Linked DNA regions of Homo sapiens: region 2 is linked to region 1. Evidence: promoter capture Hi-C in 16 types of primary human blood cells and fetal thymus (Javierre and others, 2016). All regions are on one chromosome and are shown on one strand. Each heading gives the region's core, a stretch centred on a gene start or on the middle of the fragment in contact. The rest is flanking DNA. Distances are from core to core; before and after follow the strand shown.

Region 1 (6,469 bases), core at 1,370-3,869:
CTTCTAATCACTCAAAAACTAGGTCATCCCAACATTCCAAGCTAGGACACAGAGGTGCACATCATCCTTAAAGTAGGATCAATGCTTGAGTATAGGATCCTGTTCTGCCTAGCAACCCTCACAACACCTTCCCACCTACGTGTTCCTCAAGCAAGGAGTCTTGGTGTTATCTTTGATTTCTTTTTCTCTCACAGCCTGGAGCTAATTTTTCAGGAATTCCCACTGGCACTTAAAAAATAGATATAAAATCTGATACATCTGATTTCTCTCCATATATATGATTAACACATTGATTTGGAAACACCATCTTCTCTCTGGATGCCTACAATAGCATCTGTAATCCTTTCTCTGCTTTCATCCTCATCATCTTGTGCTGTTCCCATTAAGTCAGAAGCAATATCTAAAAAACATATGTCAAATAATGTCAATTCACTGCTCAACCTTGGCTTTTATTCCGAGAGAAATTATGAACCTTTGCAAAGTGAAATCCTTACATGGCTGATATGGTTTGGCTCTGTGTCCACACCCAAATCTCCTCTCGAATTGTAATCCCCACATGTCAGAAGAGGGGACCTGGTGAGAGGTGATAGGATCATGGGGGCAGATTTCCCCCTTGATGTTCTGTTTAAAAGCGTATGGCCCCGCCCCCATTCCCTTTTTCCTGCTCCGCTGTGGTAAGACCTGCTTGCTTCCCCTTCATCTTCTGCCATGACTAAGTTTCCTGAGGCCTCCCAGCCATGCTTCTGTACAGCCTGCAGGAACTGTGAGTCAGTCAAACCTCTTTTCTCCATAAAAGTACCCAGTCTCAGGTAGTTCTTCATAGCAGTGTGAGAACAGACTGATACAAAGGCCTACAATGTTCTGTGTGATCACAGCTAACTGGAAAAAAAAAAAAAGAAAGCAGCACCCAGGTATGGGTAGGGCACATTATATTCACAGGATCAACAATAAGACTGATATTAATAGATACTTGACTTCAAAAAAAGCAAGTGAAGGCAGAATACAATTAATATACTAAAGTGGATGAAAGAAGAATTGCCCATTTAAAAACCTATTCAAATTGAAATAGAATTTTAGACAGAGGCCCGGGAGGTGAGTCATCTTTCACAAACAAAGATGACTAAGATAATTTTACAAATGAGCAAAAGTTGATGGAATGTGTCACTATATGGCCTGTAATAAAAGCAAAAATAAAAGTAGTTTTTCATGCAGAAAAAAAATGATCCAGATGGAAACATGAAAAACCTGGAGGGAATGAAGAACACCAAAACAAAGATGCATATGAATGTAAAAGAATCTAGATTTTACAAAAGAAAAGATAGGGTGGGGAGGATGTCAATGAATTAAACAGTCTAAGTGTTCCAATATTCCAGCAGTTATCTCCAGCATGGTTTGAGCCAATGGCCCCACTGCCCACTCCCCCACTCCATGTGCTTCTTATCCTGCTCCTATGATGTCAGGATTGCCCATTCAGAATGGAGTTGGGGGCAAATTAAGGTGCTTTGTTCACAAAAACACTGTCTATTCTATCTGGCTCTTGTCTGGCTTTTATCTGGCTTTTGCCATATTAGGTTTTGGTGAGGTGCTTTTCATACAGGCTGTATCCCCTTGGCCTAGCTGTACATTGTTAAAACTATGTAGGAATTCCACTTTATCCCAGCATCCCAAAAGATCAGACTTATCATGGAGGAGTGCTGAGTCCACACCCTTGAGGGCCAACTATTACAGAAGGGGAAGTTAGTTCCAGGGTACCTGTGTGGGAAGGGAGTGAGATGACTGAGTTACAGCGTTCTGAGATTGCTTTTAAAAATTATGGGGAATTAGGGTAGACAAAATCCATGGAGAACTCTAGTGAAAAGCATCTTCTCAGGTCCTTGAAAAATAGCACACATTAAGTCAGCTGTAGGTAGAAAGATCACTCTTTATCATTTATAGATGATTGGTAATTTCCTAATTATTAATAAGGAATCACATTCATAGTGGCCTCTTGTTTATCTACTTAGATCCTCCTATCCTTGTGAGTTAGAAAATATTGTAAAAGTTATCTCTACCTTAGAGATAAGAAAAATAGATCAGGGATCAGACAGGTGCCAGATCAAGTTCACGAGCTGGTTATTAATGCATATCTCAGGCCAATATGAAATATGAATGCAAAATAAAATGCCTAATGGATGACCTTGGCCTGGTCAGGCTGGACTCCCTGCCCTTTCAAGTCAGTTCTGACAGGAGTTGCCTGCAGTGTATATTTTCTGATGAGGCTGGCTTTCTTTGAAGACACTGTAAGGATAAAGAGTAAGGAGAGGCACAGCAAACACCAAGACACAAGCCAGCTCCACCTGAAAGTCTCACAGCCTCTGGCAAGTAGGGCATGACCCCTGGTAGGCACAACTCAGTGCCACTAGCTGGGGAGGAGGCATGGGTTGTAGGAAACAAGGATACAGTCCCCTTGGGTCAGGGGAAGTCCCCTTGCATCAACCCAGAGAGAGGAGGCCAGAGATGTCTCTGAGGACTCTGCTCAAGTGCAGCAGTTTCTGCTTCCACAGCCTTCTGGGAGAAGGGCAGAGGTTGGTGAGGATTAAAGCCAGCTGCTCGCTTCCCAGCTTCCTCCTTCTAAGACTCCTTAGACTGAAAGAGGAAGGCGGCACTGGTGCTGCATGAAGCTAATGAAAAGGGCCCAGGATTGTAAGTCAGACTGAGGACTGTGGATACAGCTGCAACTTAGGGAAATAGAAAACAAGTGATGTTATTGGGGTGAGCAGGAAGGTGGGAGTGAGCTGGAAGGTGGGGGCACTGTCAATTTCTTCCCATAGCCATTCCTGATCTTAGGCATCAGCTCTCCAACCCTGTTATTGCTTCTACTCTGGTCCTTCAATAGAGGGAACAGAAGTCTCGATAGTCCCACCCAACTGTTTGGTACACAAACTCCAGATGCTCTCCCCACCACAGAGGATGCCTGCTTCCGTCCTATGCCAAACACTGTGGGCCATCTCCAAGAAGTCTTAGTTGATTATTCCAGTTTGGATCTGTCACTTCTCACCTCCTGTCATTGCTTTTTCTAACCCCTGGCAAATGCCCCATCCCAGTTAAAGGGCTTCTGCATTAGTCAAGAGGAAGAAAACGAGGCCTGAACTAGAAAGATGGCAGGGAAAGGTAAGAAATACCTTATCTTTGAGGTTCTTCTACCAGAAGCAGTCCTGAAGTATCTTGATTATGTGATTATCCTTCCTTGTCTGGTTCTAAGTTTTTCAGATATGTCATTCTGATATCCTTTTAAGATAAAGGTATAGGCAACCAAATAGATTCAGTATTAATTGAGTCCATTCTGGGTACAGAGGCCTTTTTTAAGGAGAAATAGAAGATAAATCCTTTGAGCATGGACATCTTAGTTCTGAAAACAATGAACAGTCTGGACAAAACTTGCACTACAGAGGAGGTCTTAGTTTCTGGATATTAGGGGAAGAAGACTGGCTCCATTCACACTCCTACTCAGAGCACTTCATTCTGAGGAGTTGATTTTAGATGAACTTCAAAGGAAGTAAGATTTATGAACTATTAGACACCCTGTCTTTTCAGGAAGAAATCTGATAGAAGAGATGCCTTTTTTTCTTGTATGAAGATGGGTAGACAGCTCACAGGGTGGTTAGTGATGTTTAAAAGTTGAATGGAGGAATCTAGGGGGACATGGAGACTCAAAGTAAAACATGTGGGTTTTGTGGAAAATACATATTGAGATAAGGTAAAGATGCAGCAGGTTTGTGGGATTATTTCACAGTATTTTAGAAGAGTTTCTTAGACGCCAGGCATGTTTCTAGGTACTGATATGTACTTGAAAATAAAAATGTCTGTTGTCATAAGAGCTTGTTCCTGACAAAAATGCACAAACATTATGAATATTTAAAATAGTATTTTCCATTAAGAAGAGAATTTTATTCTGATGCAGGTAACAAAGTATTGTAATCGGGATGCTTAGAACCTCCATTCTGGATGCATTTTAAATGAGAAGATAACCCAAATTCTGAGCTTAAATCACATGAGGGGAGTAGTATTCTGAGAAATATGTCTTCCAATAATCTAGTAGTCTGTTTTATTTAGTGAAATGTTCCACACCTATGTATGTTAGAGGCTGGGTTTACAGAAGGAAAATAGGTAGAGTTTCTTAACTCCAGTCCCTTCACTTCATGATATGGTGGGTAATTGTTGAAGGATAAATATTGGAGAACAAAGTGGAACTTTGTGTACTTGTTAGGATTCTTTTGTAGCAGTAGTTGCTGGGAGATGCTGTGGCTTGAACAAGGGTGATGGTGTTGGAAGGGTGGAAGTGTTGGAAACGCAATGGGCAACGTGGAGATTTACTATGTAGGATGATCCAGTGTGCTTGCTGATGATTAAATATGATGCAGGAAGAAAAGAGAAGAATCCAGGATGACTTGATTCTAGGTTGAGCAACTGGTTGGGCAGGATGTTACGTTCTGAGATATGGGCAGCACAAGAAGAGAAGTAGTCATGATTTCTGCCTCAGGCATGGCAGGTTTGACATATCTGTGAGGAAGATATGTGGGGATATCGAGTATGGAGTTGGATATCCTAGTCTGGAGCTTACAAGGAATGTAAGGTATGTAAATTTGTGTTTGTTTCAGGATATGTTTATATTCTCAATGATCAACCAGCAGACCACCTAGAAAGATGCAATATTCACGGTCTTTTCAGGAGCAGTATTCTCTTTCTTCGTCTAAGTTTCAACTTTTCCCCTACTACTGGATAATTTGCTTCAGCTAAAGACATGATACTTCTGTTCTAAAACACACAGACACACACACACACACACACACACACACACACACACAGTTGACTTCGCTTTCCATTTTAGCCAGTGCCCTATTTACTTGCTGTCCTTTGCTTCCAAATTCCTCAAAAAAGTTAGCCATGTTAACAAACTTCAATTCCCCTCTTATCTATTCTAACTCAGTCAAGTCAGGCTTTGCCTGTCTCTCTTCTAGCAAAATTGCTTTTATCAAGGTATCCAATCCTCTTGTGCAATTCTAAACACAAGGCCAATTGTGTTTTCAAGTTCTTTGACTCATCAGTAGCATTTTACATGGTAATAATCCACTTGTTAGTAAACTATATTCTATATACTAAGATAGTACATTATTTGGGGATGTTTCTATCTTAATAGTTTCCACTGTCAGTTTCCCTTGCGAATATCTCAGTGTGCTCCAACTCTTCTCCCATCCATTCTTAATGTTGGGATTCAGTTCTGGGTTCTCTAGTTCTCTTTTCTGTGAACATTTACTGTCTGGGCGATCTCAAACAGTTTTGTGGCTTTAAATATGATTTATTTTCTATACGTATTACCATATTCACTTGAATTTCTGATATCTCAAACTCACCATGTTCAAAAATTGAAGTCTCGAGCTCCTCCTTTCATGCTTTCCCCGTCTCAGTTGGGAGCAGCTCCTATCAGTGGTTTATGCCAAAAATCAGGGTGTCATCTTCGACTCCCTGTTGTCTCACTTCCTATATCTAACCTGTCAAAAATGCCACTGACACATTTTAAAAATATATCCCCAATCCTATTACTTCCCACTACATACACTGCTACCTTGATTCTGAGCCAATGTTCTCCCTTCCTTGGATTCCTGCAATAGTCTCCAGGTACTTTCCCCCAATTCTACCCTTCCCTCTTTGTGCTATTCTCCATCATAGATGCCAGGGAAAACTTTAAAAGTATAAGTCACATACATCTCCTCTCTGCTGAAAACAATGTCCTTGATTCTGAGAGAAATGGGGAACTTTTGCAAAGTCCACAAAGGCCTGTGGGGCCCTGTGTGATTTGGCCCCACTGTTCTGACCTGATTCTCCTGCTCATTTGCTTCATCCTACCTGTGCTGGCTGCCTGCTGATATTTGAATAACAGGTGTTTTTATGTCTTGGGGCATTTTCTCTGGCTGTTCCATTTTCTTAGACTGTTCCTTTCCCCTGGGTGACTCCTATATTCCAAATCTATTATGGTCTTCTCATGTCCTGTCATCTCCCCTTTTTGTTGTAGGCATTGTTGTGGGAACCATTCGAGTGCAGGTGTAGGTTGATAGCACCTTACTCAGCTGTATCCCACCTCCCACAGTTTCTCTGCTTTATTGCATGGGCACCTCAGGGATCTCATTGTGTTATTCTGGTACATGTATGGACCTGAAAATGCAAGGAAATCTACACTCCTTGGGTCATCCTTGACCTATGGGGTGTGGAAGCCAGTGGATAAAAGTTCCCCTCTTCTGTGTCTAGAGTGGACAATTCTTTGGTTCCTTCTCTATGGTTCTTCATGTGGAATTGGATTATCCATCTCAGTAAGGCAACTTTGGATCCATATTCTCTTTCCTGTTCCACTCCTTCATCCTATTCTTGTTCACTGTGTAATTGTTCTGTATATACCACTGGCATGAAACTTTAGTTTGGCATTTAAGGAAGTGAA
Region 2 (6,469 bases), core at 2,435-4,934, 47 kb before region 1:
CAAAGGTCTTAGCCCTTGCCTCCTTGGAGGAAAGACCTAACACAGCTCGGAGGATGAGTGCATAGGAGACAGCAATACAGATGGAGTCAGTGCCCACCACCAGTGTGGCAGCAGTGATGCCATAGATGTTGTTTGGCTGTGTTCCTCCACAAGCCAGCTTTACCACAGCCATGTGTTCACAGTAGGAGTGGGCCACCACTCGACTGCAGTAGCTCAGTCTTGCCAGTAAGCAGGTGAGTGGGGTCATGAGTCCCAAACCACGAAGCACGGCTGCAGCCCCCAGCTTGCCTACAGACTCTGGGGAGAGCAATGACCCATAGTGCAGAGGCCAGCAAATGGCTAAGTAGCGGTCAAAGGCCATTGCTAGCAGTATACCAGATTCTACAGCTGAGAAGCCATGGATAAAGAACATCTGGGCAGCACAGGCCCCAAAGTTGATCTCAGCATCCTTTGCCCAAAAAAGTGCAAGGAGCTTGGGCACAGTGGAGGTGCAGAGGACCAGGTCAATGGTGGATAGCATGCAGAGGAACAGGTACATGGGCTGGTGCAATACAGGCTCTGAATGTACCACTAGCAGCACCACCATGTTTCCCAGCACTGCCAGGGCATACATGGAGCAGAAGGGAAAAGCAATCCAAAAGTGGGATGCCTCCGGGCCTGGAATTCCCATGAGCAGAAAGGAGGTTGGGTTCTGATGGTATGGTTTATGAGTTTCATGGCCAAGTAAGGTGGTTAGAGAAGACCTCACTGCCTTGCTCTGAGTCCTAGGAATCCCTGAGAGATGAAGCAACTGGGATTCATCATTATGCTATGGCTGAACAGCAGCAGGAAGTATTTGCATTAGGCTTCATGAAAAGCATCCAGGATGGGAAGATGGTAGGGCACTGGGAGATAATGCAAGGCAGGAGGTGGGTTACTGTCTTCAAGGTTCAAAGGAGCCCTTCACACTTGTATCTGTTTCAATGATGTCCAGGCTGTGGGTGGTGGGCAAGTGGCATGGCTGTAGAAACTTCTCTATGGTGACAGGCTGTGGGCTAGAGAATTTTACAGTTTTCTTCTACCTGTGAGCCATCTTTTGCTTATAGTCTAATATTTTTTTTCTTTGGATTCATCTGCCTGTGTGAAAATATAAAAGTAATATTAATAATAAAAAGTCAGGCAGATTCAATGGAAGACTCAAATGTGGTTACTTTTCGAGATGGAAAGATCAGGTCTGAAGGGAATTGATAGGAAGGAGGAGAGATCTTGGATGGATTTTTCAAGCCATTGAGCCTATAATAACCCATAGATGAGGCTCAGAACCTAGGTTCTGACCAGGAACAGCAAAACAGAGGTGATAGGCTGAGTCTCTGGTAGTCTCATACAGGCATAAGATTGCCTGGCTTATGTTTAGTACAAGGATCCTGCACTTGCCTCAAGTGTCCTATATGGATGCTGGTAGAAACAGCTGTGATCATGCACAATTGATCAGTGGTAGGGATCAGGCTAATTTGGCTATAAAAAGAATCTGTTAAGGTCATTGAGAAATGATTGAATACAAGGCATTTTCTCTCATAAAAATCAAAAGTACATAAAAGAAAGAGGTAAGAAGTAAATTTTAGTAACTGGGAACATGGAATCATTCCCTGAAAGCAAAAATGGAGACCCAAGTTTGACCAAATGACAGTACTGTGCTTCCATACATCTCCCCATATCTCCTGTCTATTACCCTCAAACACCCTCCTGATCTTCCCTCACCTACATTTTAAAATATATTTTTATCTCATTTTTTTCTTATCTAACCAGGTAGTAATTGGGAATTTGAGAGAAAGGAAAGATTAAACAAAAAAAAGGCAAAGGGGACAGTAGAGGGAGAGGTGGTGAGATAAAAAAGATGAGAACAAGAACCAGAAATAGACATAGGAGAGAGTAGAAAGAAAAGTACCTCTATCGAAAGAAAAGAGCTTCTAATATAATTGTATGTGACTGTGCTCCAACTGCTAATTGAAACAGAGATAGTGGACCCAATTGTTCCCTATAGTGTTGCTCATCTGTATTCCTAATCTTAAAATGCACTGCTCCTTGCAATCCTTAGTATCAGCTACCCATACCCAGAGATCATAGGAAACTGCTTTGGGGAAAGATGTAGGAGCAGGAAGGAGGAGGGTAAGGTCTTCTAATGTGATCTGCAGGAAAGAACTGTGGTCCAGGATGCCTCCTTTCCATCCCAGTGTCAACCGTGGCTGTCACTCTCATATTGAGCAAATCATCTTGTTCCTTTCTGTCTTATCATGCCTTCATGTATTTCCTGTTTTTCTCTTCTATGATATCTCCCTGAATTTCCACCATCCAGCCGGGGCCCAAGCAAGCCTAGAAGAGATTTTAGCCTTCATGGTAGCTGAAAGGTCTGGGATAGAGAAATCAGAGTGTGAAGAACCTTGTGAAATGATGCATGTAAAACTGTTCCATTTGATGAGAATGCAGTGTTTGGCTGGGCATGTGATTGTGTGTATCTATATACGTTATTGTGCAAGATGCATGAGCAAGCCTGTACTCAGAAGACACAGGGACATACATTTATGTAAGACATTGTTTTTGGAGTGTCCCTGCTTCAGTACCCTTTGTGGAGAAAATTGAGAGCTGAATAATCCAGTCATGAATGAGACAGCCCTACTTTCTTTCCCTCCCTTCTTTTCTTCTTCCATCTCAGTCTTTTAATAATTGAATCAGATTTTCTCAGGCCTTAAACTGCTACTCAAAAAACTTTTGCTCCACCCTTGATCTGGAACTACACAGCATAATGATCACAATTTCCCCTTGTCTCACCCACTTTGCACAGATGGGGAAAATGAAGTTGGAAGAGCATATGTTGAGTATAATATTCCTGAATTTTAGGAAAGAGGTCAAGGTTGAGGTGAGAGCCTTGGAGGTCTTCACTTTTTGACTTTCCTACTAATATTTGAGGTTAGACCTCATGAAAAACACTCAGGATGAGATTTTAGGGCACTGGGAAAGTATGCAAGGCAGAAGATGGGTTATCATCACCATGTTCAAAGGAACCTTTGCCACTTTAGTCTGATTCAGTGATGTATAGGCTGGGAGTAGGTGGCATGGCTGCAGAGCCCTCTCCATGGTGAATGTCTAGAGACTCTTAAAGCTTTCTACTCTCTGCCATGAACCCTTTTATGCCTATACTCTAGTGTTATTTTCCTCTGACTCATCTGCCTACTGAGATCAGGCAAGGAAGACTCCCAGCCTCCTCCAGATAGCTCTCCATAATAATAGCTCTCCTTCATGCCCCTCATTCCCCTGCTTTGTTCTTATTTATTTTAGCACTTGGTATAAGAAAGGCCTTACCTAAAATATATAAGAATAGGAGTTCAAATGCCAGGAACAAGGCTGTCTCACAAGGAAAGGAGCAAGTTCTTTATCCTGTAGGTGCTCATGAGCATCTGGAAGTGACCAACCTAGAATTTAGCACTCACTCATGGATGTCCAAGGGCAGCCAGATTCAAATCCCAGCTTTACAACTCACCAGCTGTGTGATCTCAGTCAAGCCACCTAAACTCTCTCAAACTGTTTCCCTATCCGTGTAACCTGGAGAGGTTGATTCCTACTTCATAGGCTACTATGGCGATTACTAGGGGAGACAGTTATCTGAAGAGCCAATTAAAGTACATGGCCACAAAACAGTGGTCAAAAGTGTGATTCATTTGTAAGTCCTTTTAATCTGAAGTAGAGGACAACCTCAGTGAAAAAATTACCTTAGTGGCAGTCCTATCTTTGTTCAACCATATAATAGGCACACTGAGAAGACCAAACAGACAGAGAGACAAACTTACCAGGTCTGAGGCAGGTTGTGATAGTGGAATCTGGTCCTACAGGGGTTAGAGTGTGGGAAGCAAAAGAGCTGGGGTATTTGTCCTCTTATTAGCATCCTACATGAGGGTAGCAATTCTCTGGAGGATAAAGATGCTAAAAAGACCCCTGGGATGCTGGAAAGAGGCAGCAAATTGAAAGCTGGAAATACAGGCCCTGATGGGAGAGGGAAGGATAGGATAGCAGAGATCTATCCTGAGAGTTCCGTGTGGGTAGGTGGGGTAGTTGGAAAGGTCCTTGAGCATAAATAGTCTTAAAGGTTTTTTTGGCATAGAAACATATTTTAGAATGTTTTACCAATTTTGTTTTTTTCTCCTGGCCCCCTCCCTCCTTCTAAAACCAGCTTGTCCAACCTGCAGACCAACACGAATTTGTAAGCTTTCTTAAAACATTATGAAATTTTTTTGTGACTTTTTTTTTAGTTCATCAGCTATCATTAGTGTTAGTGTATTTTATTTGTGGCCTAAGACAACTTCCAGTGTGGCCCAGCCAAAATATTGGACACTGCTGATAAAATATTTGCTTCTTGGTGTTTATTTAGGAAAAACAATTTTTTTTGAACACTAATTCTTCATATATAAAGTAGGGAAGCAGTGAAGATCAAATTAGATTATACATACAAAACATTTATCATTTTGCCTGGTATCTGCTAAGCCCTCAATAAAAAGTGTTTATCTTATTTTATCAAATGTAACGATCACTTACTGAGCATCTGTTATATGTGAAGGATTATGCTAGATTTTAAGGCATAGGGTTGAAGGATCATGCCCCTGTTCTCAAGGAGGTCACAGTCTGGATTGGAGGATGGACAGACATTAAAATCAATTAAAATTCAATGGGACATATGCAGACTTTAAAAAACAGACAGAGGCTCTTTTGGCAGGGGAGGGATTCACTATTAAGAATTAGTCAAGGATTTAGGGTTTAGAAAGATAAAGTGGGTCTGAAGGGAGGAATACACCAGGAAGGGGACACAGCACGTGTAAAACCTGGAAGGCAAGGGACATTGGGCATTTTCTGGGGACCACTGAAGCCTAATTCAAAGCCAATGTTTTCATGATTCTTTTCTGACACGCTGTGTGTGTCCTTTCTCTCTATTGCCCATGCAGCATCTCATCAAATGCCATTCATGGGATAGAGTTCACTCTAAATACTGTTGGCATGACCTTAGGTAAGTTAAGTAACAACTCTCAGCCTCTTGTTCCCCATTTTCAAAAATGGGGAAGACTGAAATGAGATAGCACATATACAATTTTTAGTAAAGTGCCTAGAACCTGGTAAATCATCAGTAGATTCCTACATGCTAGACTTTGTGAAGGCAGAGACCAGGATGAATCTCTCTCTCTGTTGGCATTTAAAAGAAGATTGTGATGATGTTAGGTACTGGGGGAAGGCTGTCAAAAGAACAGATTGGATTCTAATCAAATGTAGTCTGGGCAGATATGAAACTTGATTTCGGACAATAAGTCAACAAACACACATTGACGGCTTATGTTTCTGCTATTGTCCTGGAGATATAAAGGTTTGGAAATATTCCTGCTTTTAAGAAGCTTTAAATGCAGATGGTGAAGGGAAGACCTAGTGGGGAATGACTTGGCCCAGATGATGAAGAGGAAGGTGCAGGCTTTATTCTCCAAACATATAGGTTCCCTGGGAGCTCACAGAGAAATGACACTTCAAATATGAAAAGTTTTGGGGATCCCGAGTTTTGGTCATTCTCCCATTTGGTTCTTCAGGGACTCGACTGATTCTAAAGTGGCAAAACAGATACATGAAATGATTTAAATTTTCTGCCAGCTCCACAATGATCAGAGCCAAGCCTCAGCTCTCCATTATTTTTATGGGTCTCAGGGACAGTCATAGACGTTTAGCATTAACTTAGGATACTATGGGGGCACATTTTATTCAGCCAACAACAACTATTCTATACAATATTATTGAGCACCCACTATGTGTCAGTATTTCTCTACGTACTACTAGGAATGCCATATTGAACAAGGAAGACAAAGTTCTTGTTTCATGGAACGTCTATGCTAATAGGAGACATTTGCATTAAAAAATCAATACATGACAAATAGATATTGATAAGTTCCATGAAATTAGAATGGCTATTATCAACATGATGAAAGATAAGTGTTGGAGAGAATATGAAGAAAAGAGAATCCTTGCCCATGGTTGGTAGGAATGTAAAGCAGTACAGCCTTTATGGGAAATAGTATAAAGCTTCCTCAAAAAGTTAAAAATAGAACTACCTGTATGATCCAGCAACTCCAGAACTGGGTGTCTGGATGTCTAAAACAATGTTAAAGAGATATCCACACTGATGTTCACTACAGCATTAAAGTGCTATGAAGTTAGAATGGCTATTATTAAAATGTTGTAAGATAACAAGCATTGGAGATGGTATAGAGAAATTGCACATGGTTGGCAGGAATGTAAATTAGTATAGCCATCATGGCACATGGTATGAAGTTTCCTCAAAAAATTAAACATAGAACTACCAAAACTTAAAAATAGAACTATCATATGATCTAGCAATCCCAGTACTGGATATATATCTGAAGGAATATGTTGAAGAGATATCTATACTCCAATGTTCACTGCAGCAGTA

Evidence for each region. The method cuts DNA at HindIII sites, captures the fragments that hold promoters and counts their contacts. A CHiCAGO score of 5 or more calls a contact.
Region 2: a fragment that was not itself captured here is called in contact with the fragment with the promoter of OR52K1 in region 1 in 2 of 17 cell types (monocytes and M2 macrophages); the score reaches 6.5 in monocytes.

What each region holds. Positions count from the first base shown.
Region 1 is chr11:4,480,027-4,486,495 of GRCh38, forward strand. It overlaps OR52K1 (olfactory receptor family 52 subfamily K member 1), which reads left to right and starts at 2,620. Exons shown (of 2, transcript NM_001005171.3): 1 at 2,620-3,150. The HindIII fragment of the contact is 19,878 bases long and covers 1-6,469 here.
Region 2 is chr11:4,431,560-4,438,028 of GRCh38, forward strand. It overlaps the pseudogene OR52P2P. Among named protein-coding and RNA genes, the nearest start is that of OR52K2, 15 kb to the right of the region's middle. The HindIII fragment of the contact is 1,100 bases long and covers 3,135-4,234 here.